2 separate regions of the Homo sapiens genome follow, and region 1 is linked to region 2. The links are contacts of gene promoters, found by promoter capture Hi-C in blood cells and fetal thymus (Javierre and others, 2016). All regions are on one chromosome and are shown on one strand. Each heading gives the region's core, a stretch centred on a gene start or on the middle of the fragment in contact. The rest is flanking DNA. Distances are from core to core; before and after follow the strand shown.

The links. The method cuts DNA at HindIII sites, captures the fragments that hold promoters and counts their contacts. A CHiCAGO score of 5 or more calls a contact.
Region 1: a fragment that was not itself captured here is called in contact with the fragment with the promoter of TRPM6 in region 2 in 1 of 17 cell types (neutrophils); the score reaches 6.6 in neutrophils.

Annotation. Positions count from the first base shown.
Region 1 is chr9:74,770,502-74,775,145 of GRCh38, forward strand. It overlaps TRPM6 (transient receptor potential cation channel subfamily M member 6), which reads right to left. Exons shown (of 39, transcript NM_017662.5): 25 at 1,202-1,334. Among named protein-coding and RNA genes, the nearest start is that of TRPM6, 120 kb to the right of the region's middle. RefSeq lists an enhancer at 674-723. The HindIII fragment of the contact is 4,282 bases long and covers 383-4,644 here.
Region 2 is chr9:74,885,490-74,890,134 of GRCh38, forward strand. It overlaps TRPM6 (transient receptor potential cation channel subfamily M member 6), which reads right to left and starts at 2,432. Exons shown (of 39, transcript NM_017662.5): 1 at 2,335-2,432. The coding sequence starts at 2,367. RefSeq lists an enhancer at 1,524-1,818. The HindIII fragment of the contact is 4,553 bases long and covers 1-4,224 here.

The DNA of each region.
Region 1 (4,644 bases), core at 1,274-3,773, 110 kb before region 2:
GCTTCCTAATATGTTCAGTCTCTCCAGTGTGTCTCCTCCTCTTTCCTCAAACTTCTGAATGTCCCCCATACCGCCTGCCTCCCTCAAAATCCCACACATAGGCACACCCAGCCGACGACTCTGCCTCGAGACCTGGGTCCCCACCAACCTTGTCTGCCTTCCCGTCTACTCTGGCCATATCCTGTCCCGTTCCCCTGCTTCGGGCAAAAAGCCAGACCCTCCATTTTCCCAGCTTCTTAGGGACTTCTCTTCAGCAAATGGCCTCCTCCCTCCACTCCTGAGTTTCTCCCTTGCTGGTGGATCATTTTCAGGACCATGCTGTTTTATTTATTGCCACATTACGCAAAATCCAACAAAAAAACCTTACCGTGTCCCCATACCAAGCTTCCCTGCACCGTAATACTTCTCCCAAAAGCCACCTGTAATTGCAGTCTCTGCTTCTCCTATTCTGTCTTCACCCACTTCAGTGAAGCAGCCGCCAACTCCACTGCACAACAACCGCCGGTCAGACGCCCTGAGAACCCCACTCCCCATCCAACCAGCACCCTCCATCTACCTCCTCCTCCCCTCTGGCTGCTGCCAGACACACCATGTGGCCTCAGGCGGCTGCGCTTGCTGTTCCTTCCGCCAGGGGCGCTATTCCACCAGACGCCCCTGCCTCGCCCACTGCCTCACTTCTTTCAGGCCTCCACTCAATGCCCTCAGAGCGACCTTCTAGAACCAGACCATCTAAACAGTCCACTCAACCCCCAGCTCCGCTAGATTTCACGCCACCATCATTTCCTGTTCTCTCCAGCTACTTTATTTTTCTTCATAGCTCTTTTACTGCCTGATAATAAATTACAAATCTATTTTTGTGGTTCCTTACTTAGGTTTTGTTCTCCATCCACTTCATTTCTCTCACCACCTACACACATGCGCACACACACACACGCGCGCGCGCATGAATGTAAGTCCCATGAGGACAAGGATTCTTATGTCTTATTAACCACTTATTCCTAGTAACTAAAAGAGTGCCTGGAATATAGTAGATGCTTAATAAATATACTTTGATTACATGAATATTATATGTTGTTAAATGTTTCAAATTATAAAGAACTCAAACCTCTGGGATTTGAAAGATCTTTCTACACCTTTAGATATTCTAGCAGAATCACGTTGTGTTAGTGGTTTCAGAATGGAAAAGATTTATATCTTTTACCTTTCTGATGTCACTCGGATTCGTTCCTCACAACTACAATTCACATCTTCCATCTTCTCATGGAAGTATTTTTCCACGCACTGCTCCTCAAAATCATGAAGTTTTTTCAGATCCTCCTTACTGAGGTAGAGTTCTATAGAAATAAGTATGAAACACAGAAAGAATCATTATTCACCTCAGGGCATGAGTGGCTTTTCTTCCACTTGTATTGAAAATGAGAAACTATAGCCTGTTGTGATAAGTTTGTCACCTTGTCAAACTATTTCTAATATTAATGCAGAAACAGCACCAATAAACAACTGGGAGCTGGGCGCAGTGGTTCACGCTTGTAATCCCAACACTTTTGGAGGCTGAGCAGGGGTGGATCGCTTGAGCTCAGGAATTAGAAACCAGCCTGGGCAACACAGGCAGACCCTCTCTCTACAAAAAAATTTCAATATTAGCTAGGCGCCTGTGGTCCCAGCTACACAGGAAACTGAGGCAGAAGGATGGCTTGAGCCTGGGAGGTCAAGGCTGCAGGAGCTGTGATCACGCCACTACACTCCAGCATGGGCTAAAAAGCGAGACCCTGTCTCAAAAAAGGAAAAGAAAAGAAAGAACTGGAAACACCAGCCTGGGTCTCTCCTACTCATTCTTTGAAAATGACTCATATATAGAATTCTTTCTCTTCAATATTTTCACAGGTTAGAATGCTTTCACATTTAAGAAAAATTCACTGCGTTTATATGAAAATGGGGAATCTGTCTTCTTTTCTCTCTGCCAACACTTTCTAAAATTAATTAAATTTTAATTGATTCATATTAGATGTACCTATTTTTGAGATACATGTGATAATTTGATACATTCATATAATCACATCAGGGCAATTGGTGGCACAAGCCTGTAGTCACAGCTACTCAGGAGGCTGAGGCAGATCTCCTTAAATATTTACCTGTCCTTTAAGATAGAAACATTTGAATTATTCTCTTCTAGCTATTTTGAAATGTATAATCAATTAATTTTAACTGTAGTCAACCTACTGATGGCAGGGCATGGTGGCTCACACCTGTAATCCCAGCACTTTGGGAGGCCGAGGCAGGTGGATCACTTGAGATCAGGAGTTCAAGACCAGCCTGGCCAACATGGTGAAACCCCACCTCTAGTAAAAATACAAAAATTGGGGGTTTCCTCTCTCGGCTTTGGAGCCCCCCTCCCTCTATCTCTGTACCGGGGAGCTTCTTCCTTCTTATTTGCCTATTAAACTCTCAGCTCCTTAAAACAAACAAACAAAAAAAATTAGCTGGGTGTGGTGGTCCATGCCTGTAATCCCAGCTACTCAGGAGGCTGAGGTGGGAGAAACATTTGAACCCAGGAGGCAGAGGCTACAGTGAGCCGAGATCGCTCCACTGCACTCCAGCCTGGGCAACAGAGCGAGACTCCATCTCAAACAACAACAACAACAACAACAACAAAAACCCTACCAATCTATTGAACACTAGGTCTTATTTCTTCTATCAAAGTGTATATTTGTGCTCATTAATCAACCTGTCTTCCAACTCTTTTAGCTATTACAATGACAGTAAATAACCAATAGGTTAAATGCAAGATTAGAAGAAGGCAGTCTATTGAAATTAATCCAGTAAGTATAAGAAAGTTTCACCTTGTTACGCAGAGTTTGTGCATACTAAATCCTTCTACTGAAGAATGAGATGTTATTATTACCATTCAATGGCCAATCACAGCTGTATACCTTCTCTGACACAATTATAAATAACTCATTAAAAAGACACATCACTAAGTGATATTATAAGGCTAACACAATTCTTCATCAAACTCCAGCATTCACATTTGGTCTATTACCTTGGCTTTCACTGTTGCCTAATAGAATAATATACCATCTTTTAAGCAAGTTTATAATACTTAGAAAATATATAATGAAGTGATGCTGCTAAAAGGATTAAATTGGAAAGTTCTCTTTCTTGAATGGTTTTGCTTACATTAGGAGAAAAAGAACTAATACAATTCTCCAGAATTTATTTAAAATGCAATTGTTACATTATTTTCTGTTAAAATTAATGACAAAAAATCTGAATTTTAAATTGAAAACATGGCTAAAAGTATTATTCAGCTGTAAAATGTATTCACAACTCAGGTATACAGTGCTTTCTGATTTAAATGGCAGGAAAAAAATTTTCAGACACTGAAAAGATTCGGTATCTCCCACCCCCTACCCAACTCTAATGTCTTCTTTCACTAAAGAATCTCCTATGAGCAAGAAACTTTACAGGTGTCATGATGTGAACCTTATGTGGATCCCTGAGAGCAAACAATCCAGAGTAATTCCAATGACAGGCGCAGCTTGCAGTATGTGGCGCTTTCCTGTAATTGTCCGCAAGGTGGCACTGCTGCCCCTTGTGTAAATGTCTTTATCCTCAATATAAAGGATCAGAAGCAATGTTATGAAAATTCAACAATGTTCCACAAAGCTCAGGGTGAATTCATTTTAAACTTTACTTGAGTTTTATATGAATCATCCTATAAGCACAGACCAAGGTGAACCCAGGAAACGTTCTTTCATGTGGTACTAGGAAGTCTGGGCAAATCCTAGTCAATTCCAGGATTTATCAAGTGATTCACATTCTGCTATTAGGTTGCAATGGTTCTGCAGCCAAAGCCTGGGACGTCTCTCTATTAGCGGCCTGAAATTTACAGTATAATTATAAGCCTTCAAGTTAACTTCAGGTATGCTTTGGCTTTCGTACAAAGGCTGAATCTCTTGGTCAGGGAGCAGGGTATGAAAAAGAAAAAAAAATCTTCAAAGTGACTTAGGAGGAGAAAAAATACTTCACAGAGTCACCTACCACCAGCAAAAGCATATCACCCTGTCAACCCCATAATATACTGCAGGGGATGACCTGTCCCCCTAAGGACCTACCTAAACACATAAATAGCCCGCTATCCCCTTAGCTGAAACTCCTGGAGTCCAGAGTATTTTAGAATTCAGAACTGTTTTTTTCTAGTTTCAGAAAATTAATATAGTGAGTATGTCATAAATGAAGTGAAATCCCTAGTTAAGATTAAAGCAATCCCTAAAATCAAACATATTGCTATTTTCTGCAGCCAACATCAATGAATATTCATACTACAAGAAATAAAGAGAATAAATGGCTTCGCATCAATTCTCATCAGCCTTTTTTGGCCAAATGAGTCTTTCCCCAATTTGTGAAGAAAAAAGGATTTCAGTTTTCAGAGGTATTTTAGATTTAGGAATTGGGAAGAGGATTGCGCATTTATGCCCCCTGCTTCCTGTATTTCTGGGAACTATCTAGAAATGGGCCTGGTACCAATTGTGGAACTGCTTGACAGGAACTACAGAATAAAACCACCAAACGCAATGTTCTCTGACAACAATTAGTACGATAGTCATATCATGCAGTGAAGATCTGGCTAAACAAGATGAATTA
Region 2 (4,645 bases), core at 1,182-3,681:
TATTAACCCTATGGAATTAATTGATTCTGAACAATGAGAACGTAAAACTTCAATAAAACTAAGAAGTAAAGAAAAAAGGCACTAGTGAGACTCACATCATAATATCTTACCTAACAGTGATGGATTTTACAGAAAATAGTTGCCATGTAGACTTCTGATGTGTCACAAAGGAATAACTGAGTTATAGGTAGGATGGTCACTTTCAGTTCCAGCATGGTATTGATTCTACCAGAAGTATAATGAAAATCACTCAGATTATTTGGGCTGTTTATACTGAAAACTCATGATTTAAAACACAGTGAGGCCAGGCACAGTGGCTCAGGCCTGTAATCTTGGCACTTTGGGAGGCCAAAGAGGATTGCTTGAGCCCAGGAGTTCAAGACCAGTCTGGGCAACACAGCGAGACTCTGTCTCAAAAAAATAAAATAAAATAAAAAGTGAGAAATTTGAAAAAGAAGGAAAAAGAGAGAAGCCATATTTCAGGCACAGTATTTACCAAATGCTTGATAGTTTTGGCATAGATGTCCTATCCAAAAAATTAACTATGATAGATAATTGTAAATAGGCAAGATAAGACCAAAATTTGTGACAAATTGCAACATATTGCACGATTCTTTCCCTTCACCTCTGGTATAATGATCTCAAATGCTATTCATGCCCTTGTCTATCAAGACAAGTTTAACACTACCAAAGGGTACTAGTCTCCAGTTTTGGCCCAAAAAACAAAACTCATGCTAACTCCTACCCTAGATGGTTACCACTCCTGGTGGGAAACATAAGAAACAACCAGATTCTTAAAGTCAAGCCCAGATTCCAGTCTGGCCAAAATAGCTAACGCTTTATCAGTCCTGTAAGAACCCAAAGCAGATGACAGTGAAACATCAAAATCTGTATACAGGGGGAAAGAAATTGAATAACTCGTTTCCCACTTTAACAATTAAAGGTGATCATTTCTCCCTAGAACAAATAATCACAAATGATGTGTATGACTAGAACATCTATGTTCTCAGTGTCTTTTTTTCTCTTTTTTTTTTTTCTTTTTTATGTTCTCCGTGTCTTAAAGCACTGACCTGAGTTCAAATCTCAAATCTGCTTTTCTCCTTTGGTTTCATTTTCCTCACCTGTAAACCGGTGGAGATGGGAGAGACAGGATACTTGGACTTTATAGGATTACTGCCAGGATGAAATAGTTAAGAATCCCAAACTCTTACAACCTGCTAAATACGTCAGGCATTATTCTAAGTGCAAATGGCATGTAGCATTTCAATTCATCTTGAAACTACAAATCGTATTATCCCATTTTCCAGATGAGAAAGCCGAAGAACAGATGTTAACTCGCCCAAAATCACAGGTAGTGATGCAGCTGGGATGCTAATTCAGGCTACCTGGCTCCAGAGCATATGTTCTTATCAGAGCAGGCTGAAATGAGCTAACGTTTGCTAAGCTGCCTGGACTATTCCTGAAATACAATGTGCTCAATTATACTTATTTTTCATACACAGTGTGAGAAAGTCCAGACAAAATAGGCGAGACCAAGAAATTACCAGGATCTCCACTACTCTCCCAAGCGTCTCCAGTGCTCTCCCAACAGCCAGGAGCACCCTCCCTCTCCAAGCCCCCAGAACTTCCTGTTGCGCCATATGCCAGCGGTGGAGAGGAGCCAGCGGGGACTCCTGAGGTTGCAAGTCCGGGCGGCGCCGCGTTGGGGAAGGAAGCGGACTGCGGCGGGGCGGGTGTTTACCGTAACCGGCGCTGTCATCGCTCCGGGACTCCTGCACGGGGAACACTGGGCGCACGGGGACGCGCAGGGGCGCGGAGGGACGGCCGTCTGGGCACTTCTCCAGCCGCCTCGGAAAGCCGCGACCCCCGGCTAGTCAGCGTCCGGGTCTGAGATCTGTGCCCGTGGCAGCTCAAAACGCGCCTTCTCTCCTCCGGATTCTCAGCTCAAGCCACCTCCGAACTCCTCTCCCTCCGGCCCGGAGCGGAATCAGAGCTGCCTCCTCTCCCGGGGTGTTTCCCACCGCCCCGAGCTGAACCCCCGACCCCCGCTAGGTTTCCGCTCTGACACCACCTCCGCTATGGCCGCATCCCAGCTCTTGAAACGGGGGCTGCGGGACCTGCCCTGTAGTAGCGTACACTACCTTAGATAGGATAATCATCTTTGGGTGGAGACCAGAGAACTTGAAAGCCGGTATTTCATAAATCCTAGCTATTCTAGATCCTCGTTAGATGTAGTGTCCCTGGCCCCACCCACTTCTATCTAAGGCCGGGGGCGCAGATCTAGCGAATCGCCTAAGGTCCTTGTTCCCCGCCAGTCGAGCAGCCTGAGCTTACCTGCAAGCGCTCCAAGACAGGTTGTTCTTTCATCTTTGATTTGCAGGCCCTGCTCCCAAAGCCCTGTCTGAGCTTTTAACTGTGGAGGCAGAAACTCTGGGCTCCACCTCCACACGCTGCCTTTTACAGCCCAGTGGATCTGTCACAATACCTTTCGGCTTCAGTTACCTAACTGCCTAGAAAAGAAGGTGACTCTCAGTTTCCTTCGATAAAAGAAGAATAACGAGGATCAAATGGGATGGCCACTGTCATCACAGACATCCTTTGTAGTAATGTATTGTTACTGTTGAGTCAGTGTGGGGCGTGAGGAGATCAGAGATTTAAGCTAACGCACTGCTTTTACTACCTGTGACTTATTGGGCATGTCAAGCCTCAGTTTATTTATCTATGCAATGGGAATAATAGGGACAAAAATCCAGTTCCCTCACAAGGTTACAATGAACAAAGGAAATCACTTAATGTGCTTCATGTGTAACATACAATACAAATGTTTTGTTATTTCTGGTTTTTTTTTCATTTTTTTTGTTTGTTTTGTTTTGTTTTGGTGGATTCCTCTGGATAGGCATCTTCTCTTTCTTTCTTTCTTTCTTTCTTTCTTTCTTTCTTTCTTTCTTTCTTTCTTTCTCTCTTTCTTTCTTTCTTCTTTTTTTAGAGATGGAGTCTTGCTCTGTTGCCCAGGCTGGAGTGCAGTGGCAGGATCATGGCTCACTGCATCCTTGACCTCCCAGGCTCAAGTGATCCTTCCACTTCAGGCTCCAGAGAGTAGTTGGGACTACAGGCACACACCACAGTGCCTGGCTAATTTTATTTATTTATTTATTTATTTATTTATTTATTTATTTATTTATTTTAGAAATGGGGTCTCACTATGTTGCCCAGGCTGGTCTCAAACTCTGGACTCAAGCGATCTTCATGCCTCAGCCTTCCAGAGTGCTAGGATTACAGGCGTGAGCCACCATGCCCGGCCTAGGCAGTCTTGATTAAGGTTGTGGTCAGTGATTTGGGGTGGATCCCAGGGTGTTGGCAGAGGTGGCACAAAGCACACAGGCAAAATGATGCTCACATTATTACAAGTGTAATTAACAATGCTAGTCATTCATCCCTGACAACCGACTTAAAATTAGGGACACCTACTCATTTAGTTTATTATGAATTTTTGCCTGGTGAATTCACATTTGCAGACAGTTTACAGGTTTTTTCCCCTCATTTCTCAATGTGGTTTTAATAAGCATTTCTTTGTTTATTGGAAAATTGTAATCTCTCATATGTGTATTGGCATTTTGTTGTTTTTCTTTTTGTTGTTGTTGCTGTTGTTGTTGAGCCAGGGTCTCGCTCTGTCACCGGGCTGGAGTGCAGTGGCACTATGTCGGCTCACTGCAACCTCCACCTCCTGGGCTCAAGCAATCCTCCAGCCTCAGCCCCCGCAAGTAGCTAGGACTACATGTGCAAGCCACTACACCTGGCTAATTTTTGTAATTTTTGTAGATACGGAGTTTCACCATGTTGCCCAGGCTGGTCTCGAACTTCTGAACTCAAGCAATCCACCCACTTCAGCCTCCCTAAGTGCTAGGCATTTGTTGTTCTTCTATAAACACATTTAATCTCCTTTCCTCTCCTTAACCCATCTTCTTTAAAGCGTTAATCTGTAAACAGTTAACAGGTTCTGAAAGCTCTTCTAAGGCAAGTAAATCCTTCTCGATCTCTGTCTTCCATACAATTTCTTTGTTAGGTCTCTTACAGTGACTGGGTCAGAGAGTTCTCAGAAATCTTCAGACCCACCAAGAAGAGTAGCCATTTGGAACTCAAGATTTGTAAGAAGTCTACCATCTTCTAGTTTACCATCTTTGGTAAACCTACATGTTAGGATGATCATATATTCTTTTCAGATCAAGCTTCAAGGCATTTAGAGCCTGAAATACAAGGGCAATGTGAAGTGCTTAAAGCATTGAATGTACTAGTTTACAAGCTGCCTTTGGTTCCCAAGCTGTATCAGAAACATCTGAGGCATTTGTCAAAAGTGCAGATTCCCAGGCTCCAACCACCCTACCCAGATCTCTTGTATCAGGATTTATAGGGTGGGGCCCAGGAATCTGTATCTTTCACAAGCACTTTAATCAGTTGTCAAACTTGTATATAAAACTTCTTGTCCAGGCATGGTGGCTCATGCCTGTAATCCCAGCATTTAGGGAGGCCGAGGCAGGAGAATCACTTGAACTCATGATTTCGAGACCAGCCTGGTCAACATGGCAAAACCCCATCTGTACAAAAAAAAAAAACAAAAATTAGCCACGCGTGGTGGCTTACACTTGTG